4 separate regions of the Homo sapiens genome follow, and regions 2, 3 and 4 are each linked to region 1. Evidence: promoter capture Hi-C in human tissues and cell types (Jung and others, 2019). All regions are on one chromosome and are shown on one strand. Each heading gives the region's core, a stretch centred on a gene start or on the middle of the fragment in contact. The rest is flanking DNA. Distances are from core to core; before and after follow the strand shown.

Region 1 (3,111 bases), core at 575-3,074:
GGGGCTTATAGATGGGGAAGTCAAAGCTTCTGGAGCCACGGAGGAGATAATTTTTACTCCGACGCAGCAACCCGCTGAGTGACCTTGGACAAGGCCCTGCCCTCCCAAGGCTAGGGTCAGCACCAAGTCCCCCTGGCTGGAACAGGTGGCCCCTGAGCCATCCAAGGTGACCATTGCCCCGATCCCAGGTCCTGGTGAGAGAAAGGGCAGCTGGGGGTTTCCCCTTCAGTCCTGTTCTGGGGTCTGGCATTGCCCCTGCCCTCCATGGGGTGTCCTTTTCTGCCCTCTTCTCCAGGATCGGACTTGGGTACCATGTGCTTCTATAAGCCCTCTGCAGACAGCACTAAATAGATGGAGGGAGCACGCCAAGGGAGCTACAGGCTCCCAGGGCAGCTTCAGAGCTGGGGAGCAAGAGTTCAGCTGCTCTGCCAAGCGAGGTGGTTCACAACTGTAATCCCAACACTTTGGAAGGGCGAGGCAAGCTCAGGAGTTCGAGACCAGCCTGGGCAACGTACTGAAACCCTGTCTCTACAAAAAATTAAAAAAATTAGCCAGGTGTAGTGGTGCACACTTGTAGTCCAAGCTACTTGGGGGCCGAAGGTGGGAGGATCGCTTGAGCCCGGGAAGTCAAGGCTGCAGTGAGCCATGTTCATGCGACTGCACTCCAGCCTGGGTGACAAAATGTCACCTCCCTGAATGTCACCCACCTAGATCTCCCCATGGCGAAGGAACTAGGGGCAATGTGAGGGGGTGAGCAGGAACAGCATTGGGAAAGACAGATAAAGCATTCAGTGTCTAGCTTCTGGAGCCCAGTGAAAGGAGGAGTGGCCTTAGGGAGGGGACATGGAAGAGGTGGGGCTAGCCCAGGGCCCCATTGGAGTGATAAAGCCACTGTTCTTAAGCTTCCTGAAAGCTTAGGAGATGACCCAGCTCAGCAACACCAAGCCAGAGCGCAGATCTGCTGTAAAGACCATTGTACGTAATAGGCTGAAGCAGGTGAATCACCTCTGGCCAGGAGTTCAAGTCCAGCCTGGCCAACACAGCAAAACCCCATCTCTACTAAAAATACAAAAAGTAGCCGGGCATGGTGGCAGGCACCTGTAATCCCAGATGCTTGGGAGGCTGAGGCAGGAGAATTGTTTGAACCCTGGAGGCGGCAGTTGCAGTGAGCTGAGATCACATCACTACACTCCAGCCTGGGTGACAGAGCAAGACTCTGTCTCAAAAAAATAAAAAATAAGAAAGACCACTGTAGTCCGGGAGCTGTCTGCACCCTACTCTTTTGGGTCCCCGCCTCCACCCCGCACCCCCTGTCTGATCATTACAGATCTCAAAGGGACAGGAAAGGCAGCAGCAGCCACCCTCTCTCCCAGTCAAGTGGTCACCAGCAGGACTGAAGGGGACAGCCCCTTTGCAGTGGCTCGGCGAGGAGACCCCTGCACCCTAGGGTGAGTGAATCCCAGACTTGGGTCGCCTTTGGGGGTGGGGGTGGCTCAGGGGTTGGATAGAAAAATTGGTAACTGGGCAGGCTAGGTGGCTCACGCCTGTAATCCCAGCACTTTGGGAGGCTGAGGCAGGTGGATCACTTGAGGTCAGGAGTTTGAGGCCAGTTTGGCCGACATGGCGAAACCCCGTGTCTACTAAAAATACAAAAATTGCCCGGGGATGGTGGTGGGCACCTGCAATCCTAGCTACTTGGGAGGCTGAGGCAGGAGGACCACTTGAATCCGGGAGGCAGAGGTTGCAGTGAGCCAAGATCGCGCCACTGCACTCCAGCCTGGGCGACAGAGCAAAGCTCTGTTTCAAAAAAAAAAAAAAAAAGGTGACCTGAGGAAAAAGTGCCAGCTTTTGAAATAATAACAAGCTGGGTACAGTGGCGTGCACCTGTGGTCCTAGCTACTCGGAAGGCTAAGGTGGGAGTATCGAGTCCAGGAGTTCGAGGCTGCAGTGAGCTATGATCACGCTTGTGAATGGCCACTGCACTCCAGCCTAGGCGACAGAGCGAGACCCCCATCTCTTTAATTAAAAAAAAAAAAAAGAAAAAAGGCCAGACGTGGTGGCTTACGCTTGTAATCCCAGCACTTTGGGAGGCCAAGGCAGGCAGATCACCTGAGGTCAGGAGTTCGAGACCAGCCTGGCCAACAGGGTGAAACCCCCATCTCTACTAAAAATACAAAATTAGCCAGGCATGGTGCTGCATGCCTGTAATCCCAGCTACTTGGGAGGCTAAGGCAGGAGAATCACTTGAACCCAGGAGGCGGAAGTTGCAGTGAGCCGAGATTGTGCCATTGCACTCCAGCCTGGGCAACAAGAGTGAAACTCCATCTCCAAAAAAAAAAAAAAAAAGAAAGAAAGAAAAAAAATAATAATATAATTATTATTATATCATATATATCATGATGATGATAGCAAGGACTATGCTTTCTAGAGCCTCCGGGGAGTTACTGTCCACTTTCTTTGATCACTGGAGTTGGGGAAACTATTCAGAGAGGCCAGATGACCTAGAAGTGGGGTGTTGAGCCAGGTTGGAAGAGCTCTGTCCCACCACTCCCGCCCCCGCCCCCCACACACAGCCTCTACTTCCCGGCTCTCGTGGTCTCGCTGGAGACAGCCCCCAGGGTAGGCCAGCTCTGTGGAAGGCAGCTCCTGTGCTCCTTTCTCCAGTGAACTTTTTTTTTTTAGTTTTGTTTTGTTTTGTTTTGTTTGTTTGTTTTGAGACAGAGTCTGACTCTGTCGCCCAGGCTGGAGCGCAGTGGCATGATCTTGGCTCACTGCAACCTCCACCCTCCACCCCACCGGGTTCAAGCGATTCTCCTGCTTCAGCCTCCCAAGTAGCTGGGATTACAGGCATGCGTCACCACGCACAGCTAATTTTTGTGTTTTCAGTAGAGATGGGGTTTCCCCATGTTGGCCGGGCTGGTCTCGAACTCCTGACCTCAGGTGATCCACCTGTCTTGGCCTCCCAAAGTGCTGGGATTGCAGGCGTGAGCCACTGAGCCAGGCCTCCTTGGTGAACACTGACTGACATCCAGGGTCAGCACTAAGCTGCCCATGGGGGTGTGGAGAAAACAGAGGTGGTGGTCATTTAGTCAATCAACAAACACTGAGCAA
Region 2 (3,342 bases), core at 515-3,014, 390 kb after region 1:
AGAGGAATTCTGGTCTCTGATGAATGTTGGCAGAATGTGCCTGGGGATGTGCTGGGTGTTGAGACGCAGCTCTAACAGAACAACGCTTCCTCCTCTAGAAGTTCTCATCTCTATGTCGGAGGAAACGGGAAGCCAACCAGAGAGGCTGTGACCATACTAAATGATTTCTGCTTAATAATACCTGGGGAGGGGGCCGGAGGCAGTGGTTCACGCCTGTAATCCCAGCACTTTGGGAGCTGAAAAGGGTGGATCACCTGAAGTCAGGAGTTCGAGACCAGCCTGGCCAACATGGTGAACCTCCCTCTCTACTAAAAATACAAAATTAGCTGGGTATGGCGGCACTCGCCTGTAATCCCAGCTACTTGGGAGGCTGAGGTGGGAGAATTGCTTGAACCCGGGAGGCAGAGGTTGCAGTGAGCCAAGATCACACCACTGCACTCCAGCCTGGGTGACAAGAGTGAAACTACGTCTCAAATAAATAAATACATATATAATTTCTGCTTAATAATACCTGGGGGACTAAATAATCTGTACAACAAACCCCATGACACGAGTTTATCTATATAACAAACCTGCACATGTACCCCAAAACTTAAAAGCTAAAAAAAATTAAAAATGATTTCTGGCCAGGTGTGCTGGTTTACACCTGTAATCCCAGCACTTTTGGGAGGCCAAGGTGTGCGGATTGCTTGAGCTCGGGAGTTCGAGACCAGCCTGTGCAACACTATGAAACCCCCATCTCTACAAAAATACAAAAATTAGCTGGGTGTGGTGCCACACACCTGTAGTCCCAGCTACTCAGGAGGCTGAGATGTGAGGATCAGTTGAGCCCTGGAGGTCAAAGTTACAGAGCTATGATTTTGCCACTGCACTCCAGCCTGGGTAACAGAGTGAGACCCTGTCTCCAAAAAAAAGAGAGAGAAAGGAAATTATTTCTGAGCTTTATTGCTATGAAGAGGATGGAACCAGGGAATGAGATGGAACCACTGGGGGGTAGCAGTGAGGTCATTTCAGCCAAGGAGGGCCAGAAGGAACCCTCAGAGGAGGTAATAGGATAGCAGGGAGGTGATAGCCAGAGAAGGCCACAAGGAGAAAGTGACAGTTCACCCCTCGGAGGAGGTGACAGCCAGGACAGGAGGAGGGCCCCTGGGAGGAGGCGACATTGGAACACTGGAGCTGAGGCCTGAAGGAGGCCAGCTTCGCAGGTACCTGCGGGGTGTGTTCCGGCAGAGGGAACAGCAGGTACAATCGCCCTCCCCCATTAGCCTCCTAGGACCATGGGGGCCTGCAGAGAAACTTCTGGCACCACACAAATATGGTTGTCGTGTTTTTCCTTTTTTACTCTGTCCTCCCCCACCCCCGCCAACTTCCTGGCCTGAATGCTGCTCCTGTGACCCCTTGAGGCGAGTGACCTCGGGGAAGTGGCATTCTGTGCCTCAGTTTCCTTATCTGGAAAACGGGCCTTGCTCGCGGGGACTTCCCTCCCTAATTCTGCGCAGTATGCATGCATAGGGCAGGCCCTCAATGAACCCTTGCAGAATAAAGGACCGGCTCATCCCCAGCACCTGGCTCAGTGCGTGCAAGCGGCTACACACTACGGCATAAGATGTTCCCATTTTGCAGACGGGGAAACGGAGGCTGGGGAATACCGGGCCTAGCCGACGGGGGCGGGGCGCAGGGCGCGCACGCTGCGTCTCGGGCCCGGGGGCGCGCACGCCGAGCGGCTGACCGGGGGCGAGGCCGGGGGCTTGACAGGGGCGTGGCCTCGCGCGGCCGAGAGGCTGCAGCGGCAGCAGCTGTCGCGCCAGTCGCAACAGAAGCAGGTCCGAGGCACAGCCCGATCCCGCCATGGAGCAGCCGAGGAAGGCGGTGGTAGTGACGGGTACGCTGGCTGATGGGGGCTGTAGCGGCAGCGGCCGGGGGCAGAGGCGGGGGCGGCTCCGGGACTGCGGGGCCGAGAGGGGCAGGTGCTGGAAGTCCTCTCAGATTTGGAAGGTGTCATCACCCGCGGGAGCCCCGCGCAGCCCAGGCTTCCTGGAAAGTGGAGGAGGAGGAGCCTTGGGGGTCCCAGGGTCGGGAGTCAGGGCAGTCGGGCGCGGGGCTTGGGGGGCCGGGCAAAAGCCCGGCGCTGCGCAGGCCCCCCTGGCGTCCTTTCCTCCCAAGGTGGGGATGGTGACCCTCCTGGCACCTGCCTCCTCTGTCTGGCCTGCGGGCTGGACTGGACCCTTCCTCCCTGCCCCTTCCGAGGTCCAGCCTGTCCCCACACCGCTCCCCCAACCCCTGGCCCCAGGGGACAAAGGCCGATTTGCGGGCAGGAAGTGTCCCAGTGACAAATGAACCTCCCAGTCACTGCTCGCCGCGCCCTGCGCTCCTGGGGGGCTACTCTCCCAAGGCAGGGGCAGGTGGGGGTCCGGGGACCTCGGGCTCTCCCAGCTGTCCCAGGGACTGTCTTCAGCGGAAACCTTTTTGTGTTTTGTGCCAGGGCTGTTTGTTGGTGAGTCAGGGCCCCTGCTGTCACCGACTCCCCCCCACCCCCAAACCAACTGTTTCTCCTCCCTGAGACTCCGCCTCGGGGCCACGTGGGGCGCCAACTTCCGCTGGGGCCTCAGAGTCAAGGAGTGGGGGGGTCATTTTGACCTGCTGTCTGGAGGGGTCAGAGTGGGAAATCCAGCAAAGGTGCACACAGGTGTTTTGTGGCTGTTGAAGGGAGATTGAGGCTGATCCAGGAGATTCAGGGAAGAAGGAAGAAACAAGGCACCTGCTTAACAGGTGTGTATAATTGGGAGGAGGGTCACTGCCCCCATCCCTTCCAGCCTTCCTTTATCTGGTTATTTATTCCAGCACTTTTTGCATGAGCTGATTACATCTTTACTGTCTCCATTTTGCAGAAAGGGAAACTGAGGCTCACAGAGGTCATCCAGTTTGTAAGGGGCTGAGCTGAGACTCAAACTTTGGCTGTACAGAAGGATAGAGTTAGGAGGTCCCCTCCTGAGCCACAGCCCCTACCTGCTATCCCAGGCTACAGCATCTCTGCATAGCATTCATATCCTGTGGGATCACTGGCCCAGATGGACCGTATTTTTTTTTTTTTGAGACGGAGTTTTGCTCTTGTTGCCCAAGCTGGAGCACAACGGCGCGATCTCGGCTCACTGCAACCTTCGCCTCCTGGGTTCAAGCGATTCTCCTGCCTCAGCCTCCTGAGTAGCTGGAATTACGGGCACGCATCACCCCATCTGGTTAATTTTTTGTATTTTTAGTAGAAACGGGGTTTCACCATGTTGGCCAGGCTGGTCTCAAACTTCTGACCTCAGGTGATCCGCCCGCCTTGGCCTCCCAAAGTGC
Region 3 (3,126 bases), core at 439-2,938, 270 kb before region 1:
CCCGTCCAGCAGAAACGAGCTTAGAGAAAGTAGGCCCCTGTCCCTTTAAGAACACCCGCGTCCACGCCGGCCCAGCCCGGCCGGATTTGCACTCGGAAGCTGCCGCGGCGGGGAGCGGGCGGGCGGGGCAGGGTTTGTGAATGAATCGGCCGAGGGGGAGGGGAGGGAGGAGGAGGGGCGGCGGGGGCGGTTCCCGGCTCCCCGGCCTGCCCACCCTGTGTCCAGGCAGCAGGAGTTCAGCACACGCACGCTTCCTGTCGCCCGAGGTCTCCCGAAGCCTGCAGTCTCAGGCTTGGCAGACACACCCCTTCCCCCACCCCAGCCTTCTTGAAATGGGTGGGAGTGACGGGGGGACCCCAGTCCTTAAGAACCAGGGGTTCAGAGCTCTGTAGGCGTGGAACGGCGGTCCACATCCACCCCTGCCGCCCAAGGTCTCCCAGAGTTTGATTTCTCAAACGGGAGTGCCCAGAACGCCTGGGTTCGGTTGGGCTGGCTTCCCCACGACCCCAGAGCCATAAAGGTGTGGGGTGGGGGGTCATGCCCCTCCCACGTCTCCCTCCCTCCTCCAACCCCAACGCAGAGCGTGGGCCTGGGCGTGGGCCTCTGTGCAGATGGCGTTCTGGCCCCAAAATAGCTCCCCCCCCACCTCACGTCTCCCTCCCTCCCTCTCTCCAGTGCAAAGTGGGTGAGGTGAGGATGGGCCAGGAGGGGGACCAGGAGACATTGCTCTTCCAAGAAGTAGGCTCCCTGCCGAGAAGGCCCTGAAACGTGTTTGGGAGAACCGGAGGGGGCAGGGAGCGGGAAGACCTTCTGGACATTCCTCCAACCCCCTCACTCGGGAGGCCAAAGAGTTAACTGGAAAAGCGCCCCCAGACCTCCAGTCACAGCCCTCTCTGGACGCTGGGAGGGGTCTCCTGTCTCCACACTCCCCCCACTCCAGTCCTCTTTACACCTAGGGCTGGGAGAGTCCTAGAACTCGTGGATGCCCTGATGGCCAAGCCCCTCTACCTATATCTTACATCCCCACGGCTTGGAGAACCCTCCCACCGCACTCTCCTTCGAATTTCCAGCCGGGTCCGCGTCCATGAGGACCCGTAACCCAGCCCACAACACCAGACCCCTTCCAAGCACCCCTGCAGGCTTCAATCAAACTACCGAGCCCAGACTCTTCCTCACTGACCCTCTAAAAACCTGGTCTACACAGACGCCCCAGTCTAGATCGTTTCCGGGTAGAACCCCGGATACCCGTCCACGTCCACACGGGCCTCCGCGTTCAGCCGCGTCCACACGACCCCTCCAGCAGCGGCCACCAGGACCCCCGAGAGCCCTGCCGCGTCTACACGGATCACCCCCTCCGGGGCCCAGCTGCGTCGACAAGGGCTACCCCTCTCAAAAGTCCAGCCACCTGGACTCGGGTCACCCCCCAGGAACCCCCTGGGAGCCGCATCCACGCGGACCCCGACCCCAGCCCGCGTCCACACGGGTCCCCCGACCCCCAGCCTCGCCTCCTACCTCCAACGCAAAGCAGAGACATGTCTCCGAGCTCGCAGGTGGGCCGGAGGCGGCCGGGCCGGCTCTGTCGGGTCGGGCTCAGCGGCCGCTGGGCTGGGGCATCTCCCGGCTGCAGCCCGCGCTTGGCTCACGCCGGGGCCCGGCCGCCACCGGCCATCTTGGTTCAGCACCGGGGGCGCGGACAGCGCCTGACGTGGCGCTGATGCGGGGCGGGCAGGCGGAGCCCAGGGACGCCTGATGGGGCGGGGGCGCTGCGGGCTGGGGGGGCGTTAAAGGGCCTGGCTCCGGGAAGGGGCGCCTCGCCCCACACCTCCTCGTTGCAGGGGGACAAGGGGCGACGGCGGCCCCCAAGCAGGTTTCCTCCTGTGCAGACCCTCACCTGCACTGAAATGGTGCACGTGCCCCCGCCACCCATGCATGGACATTCCTGCCCTGGTAACCTGGGCAAACGCCTCCCTGCAATACTCAAGCAAGTACAGGCAAATGCAAGCTCTTGTGTGTACGCCCGGCACCAGCACCGGGCAGATGGTCCTGTTCTCTGAGTATCTCTCTTCCTCTGTCTCTACGTCTCTGTCTCTCTAACTCTACTGCCTGGTCTCTTTCTCTCCCTGGGTCTCTGTTCCTCTGACTCTGTCCACTGCTCTCTCAGTCATGTGTCTCTTAGCCTCTCTCTGTAAAGTCTTTTTGCAGCTCTACTGCATCCTGTCTAGGTCTCTCTCTATGTCTCTAAGCCATCCAGCCCATGGGTCCTTGCCCACACTCTGAACTCCTTTTCATCCATCAATGTCTTGTCTGAATATCCTCTCCTCCAGGAAGGCTTCCCTGACTGCCCCAAGCTGAGCCTTTGTTTCTCCTCTCTGGACTCCCCCAGCCCCTATCCCTTCCTCTGATTGGGCCCTGACCCGAACGAAACTCTGCCACTCCTCCCCACTTTTCTTTTTTTTAGATGGAGTCTCCCTCTGCAGCCCAGGCTGGAATGCAGTGACGCAATCTTGGCTCACTGCAACCTCTGCCTCCTGGGATCAAGAGATTCTCCTGCCTCAGCCTCCCCGAGTAGCTGGGACTACAGGCGCATGCCACCATGCCCAGCTTTTTTTTTTTATTTTATTTTTTTTATTTTTAGTAGAGACGAGGTTTCACCATGTTGGCCAGCCTGGTCTTGAACACTTGACCTCAGGGGATCCGCCCATCTCGGCCTCCCAAAGTGCTGGGATTCAGACCTGAGCCACTGCGCCTGGCCCCCTCCCCACATATCAAACTGGGCAGCTCCATGTGGGCCCCTTGCCCTGCAACCTGCTCGCTGTATCACTGGCACCTAAACTAGCATGAAAGGCTGAGCCCCACAGGGTCTCCTGCCCCCAGCCCACATGAAAGAGCTTCATAAATGCAGAATGTGCATGGAGTTGAGTGAGGCCATTGTTCAAAACCAAACTCTGTCTCTCATCACAAGCATGGCCTTGGGCAGGTCTTGTGACCTCCTCGTGCCTCAGTTTCCGCACCTGTAGAATGAATATGATAACAAGTCCTGCCTCACAAGGTTGCTGGAGGTATTACATGAGTTAACATGTGAAACCAGTTGTAATTTTTTTTTTTTTGGAGGTGTAGTCTCAATCT
Region 4 (3,179 bases), core at 583-3,082, 440 kb before region 1:
TCAGGCTGATCTTAAACTCCCGACCTCAGGTGATCCACCTGCCTTGGCCTCTCAAAGTGCTGGAATTACAGGCGTGAGCCACCACGCCCAGCCCTCCTTTCTTTTTGAATAGTCCTGGCACCGTTGCCAAAGATGAGTTGACCATATATGCATAGGTTTATTTCTGCATCAGTTCCAATCATTTATTTATATGTCTATCCTTATGCCAATACCACAGTTTTGGTTATTGTACCTTTTTATTGTTTGAAATGAGAAAGTATGAGTCCTCGTATTTTATTCAATATTGTTTTGGCTATTTTGGGGCCATTTGCAATTTATTATTAATTTTAGGATCAATTTGTCAATTTCAACAAAAACATTGTAAATTTGAAAGGGATTACATTGCATCCGTAGACCAATTTGTGGAGTACTGCCATCTTAACAATATTATACTTTCCAATCCATGAACGTGGAATGTCTTACCATTTATTTAGATCATCTTTAATTTTTTTTTTCACCAAAGTTTTAGTTCTTTTGCTTGTTTCGAGACAGGGTCTCACTCTATTGCCCAGGCTGGAGTGGAATGGCAGGAACACAGCTCACTGCAGCCTTAGTCTCCTGGGCTCAAGTGATCCTCCCACCACAGCCTCCCAAGTAGCTGGGACCACAGGCAGCTGCCACCGGGTCCAGCCTTGGCTTCCCAACGTGCTGGGATTACAGCTGTGAGCCACCAAGCCCAGCTACAGCTCTCAAGAAGTACAGTCTTGTACTTCTTTTATTAAATTTATGCCTACTTTATACTTTATGATGCTATGGTAAATGGAATTGTTTTCTTAATTTGCTACTGATTTTAAAATCCACTACCTGTGTGAGTTGAACTGCGCTTACACACATCACTGAAATATCCCACTCTCAGAAGTGGCCCAGCCTCCCCAGGCCCACCAGGCCTTCTTCCCCTTCCAGCCCTCTGTCCAGGCAAGAACTCGATTGGAGGCCTTTCTGGGCACTCAGAGGGACACACCACCACACTAGGAGGGTTAGCTTAAAAAATTCAACAAGCATGGCCAGGCGCAGTGGCTTTCGCCTGAATGCTACCACTTTGGGAGGCCGAGGCAGGAAGATCGCTTGAGCCCAGGGGTTCAAGATCAGCCTAGACCATATAGCAAGAGCCCGTCCGTCCGGAAAATGTAAAAAAAAAAAAAAAAAAAATTCAACAAGCATATTTTCATCCCCTACTTTTTTTTGAGATGGAGCCTCGCTCTGTCGCCCAAGCTGGGGTGCAGTGGCACGATCTCGGCTCACTGCAACCTCCGCCACCCCGGTTCAAGCGATTCTCCTGCCTCAGCCTCCCGAGTAGCTGGGACTACAGGCGCCCGCCACTACGCCCGGTTAATTTTTTGTGTTTTCAGTAGAGACGGGGTTTCACCGTGTTAGCCAGGATGGTCTCGATCTCCTGACCTCGTGATCCGCCCGCCTCGGCCTCCCAAAGTGTTGGGATTACAGGCGTCAGCCACCGCGCCCGGCGGTGCAGGAATTTTAAAACTCACCAAAATACGCCCTCCTTCAGAAAATCCCTGCCACCTCGATAGGACGTCCTCTTCTTGAGCTCCCCTCTCCGGCCCTCCCTGATACAGCAAGGTTGAGCATTCGGGCACTGGCTTCCCGAACTCACTTCGACTCAGGCACAGCAGGCAAAGATTCAATGGGTAGGGCCGGACCGACTGCCCGACCTTCGCGGTGCTTCACTTGCCTCACTGCGCATGTGCCAAAGACAATCACCCAAAGTACTCGAAACCAAGCGGCAGGGCCGGCCCTTGCGCAGGCGTACTAGCGACGGCCGTAGGGAGCGCTTCCTCCTCCCCGCCGCCGCCCTCGCCATGGCCGCGCCGGCCCCGGGCCTCATCTCGGTGTTCTCGAGTTCCCAGGAGCTGGGTGCGGCGCTAGCGCAGCTGGTGGCCCAGCGCGCAGCATGCTGCCTGGCAGGGGCCCGCGCCCGTTTCGCGCTCGGCCTGTCGGGCGGGAGCCTCGTCTCGATGCTAGCCCGCGAGCTACCCGCCGCCGTCGCCCCTGCCGGGCCAGCTAGCTTAGCGCGCTGGACGCTGGGCTTCTGCGACGAGCGCCTCGTGCCCTTCGATCACGCCGAGAGCACGTACGGCCTCTACCGGGTGAGAGCTACGGGGGCCGCCGGGGATCACGCCGAGAGGGCCACAGCCACCGCCTACACCCCGGCTACGGAGGCCGCCGGGGGCCATGCCGAAAGGGCCGCGCCCACTGTCTGCACCTCGGCTACGGGGGCCACTGGGTATCATGCCAAGAGGGCCGTGCCCACTGCCTGCACCTCGGCTACGTGGGTCGCTGGGGGTCATGCCAAGAGGGCCGCGCCCACCGGTTGCCCTCGGCTACGGGGGCCACTGGGGGTCATGCCGAGATGGTCACGCCCACTGCCTGCACCTCGACTACGGGGGCCGCTGGGGGTCTAGCCGACAGGGCTCGCCCGCCTCCTGAACCCCGCCTACAGTGGGTCCCGCAGGACCTCACTGCGCCCTCTGCCTTTATCTAGGCAGGGCTAGAAATGGTCTACTTGCAGTCCGTCTTCCTGCTTCATCCGGTGGCCAGGCAGAGGGAACGGCACGGGCAAGGGCCTGGAAGGGAATCCGAGTGGCCCATGTCAAACGATGCCCATAACTCAGCCCCGTAGCGGACGGGGGCACGAGGAATCAGGTGTAGAGCCTGAATCTCAGGGTCCTGATCTCTAACCCCAGCGAGTTCTCGGGGATCCCTGGGCAGCTTTGCCGCTCTGATGGCTCTGCTTCCAGGCTGTTCATCTTTGGCTTTGAGCCTCAGGATTCTATAGAATCAGAGGAGCGCGCTCTTTTAAAGACAGGGTAACTGAGGCTTGGAGGAGCCTTGGCCTGGCCGAGGGAAGAGTGGGAGGGGCGGGCTCAAAGGCCAGGAACCTCAAGTCACTTGAGTCTGGCAGCGTCAAGGGACACCCCATGCTGGGTGTGCCGTCTTCTCTTTGCATAGAATCTTGAGCTGATGATGGTTTTGTGGGTTTTTTATTAAGAGAAAAGGCTTACTGAACGCTTTATATGCATCAATTCATGAGTCCGTACCACAGCCTATGAGATGTTACACTCATTTCACAGATGGAGAAACTGAGGCCAGAAGAGGTGAGCTTACCTGCCCAAGGCATCTAG

Evidence for each region. Contacts are between HindIII fragments. The study calls those that stand out against the background at their distance.
Region 2: the fragment with the promoter of PGPEP1 here is called in contact with a fragment that was not itself captured in region 1 in 3 of the 25 tissues and cell types used here (H1 embryonic stem cells, dorsolateral prefrontal cortex and spleen).
Region 3: the fragment with the promoter of UNC13A here is called in contact with a fragment that was not itself captured in region 1 in 4 of the 25 tissues and cell types used here (aorta, dorsolateral prefrontal cortex, heart left ventricle and 1 more).
Region 4: a contact is called between the fragment with the promoter of PGLS here and a fragment that was not itself captured in region 1, in 2 of the 25 tissues and cell types used here (dorsolateral prefrontal cortex and lymphoblastoid cells).

The regions. Positions count from the first base shown.
Region 1 is chr19:17,953,234-17,956,344 of GRCh38, forward strand. It overlaps a transcript of KCNN1 not described here. Among named protein-coding and RNA genes, the nearest start is that of KCNN1, 12 kb to the right of the region's middle. The HindIII fragment of the contact is 4,437 bases long and covers 1-3,111 here.
Region 2 is chr19:18,338,834-18,342,175 of GRCh38, forward strand. PGPEP1 (pyroglutamyl-peptidase I) reads left to right here and starts at 1,765. Exons shown (of 5, transcript NM_017712.4): 1 at 1,765-1,882. The coding sequence starts at 1,849. RefSeq lists a silencer at 1,614-1,803 and an enhancer at 1,635-2,322. The HindIII fragment of the contact is 61,917 bases long and covers 1-3,342 here.
Region 3 is chr19:17,686,666-17,689,791 of GRCh38, forward strand. UNC13A (unc-13 homolog A) reads right to left here and starts at 1,689. Exons shown (of 44, transcript NM_001080421.3): 1 at 1,513-1,689. The coding sequence starts at 1,534. RefSeq lists enhancers at 1-830, 831-1,791 and a silencer at 1,025-1,207. The HindIII fragment of the contact is 19,419 bases long and covers 1-3,126 here.
Region 4 is chr19:17,509,817-17,512,995 of GRCh38, forward strand. It overlaps PGLS (6-phosphogluconolactonase), which reads left to right and starts at 1,833. Exons shown (of 5, transcript NM_012088.3): 1 at 1,833-2,144. The coding sequence starts at 1,857. PGLS-DT (PGLS divergent transcript) reads right to left here and starts at 2,073. Exons shown (of 3, transcript NR_147835.1): 1 at 1,527-2,073. RefSeq lists enhancers at 679-1,336, 1,337-1,993, 1,561-1,810, 2,304-2,598, 2,561-2,820 and 1 more and silencers at 1,871-2,000, 2,011-2,060, 2,304-2,598. The HindIII fragment of the contact is 13,558 bases long and covers 1-3,179 here.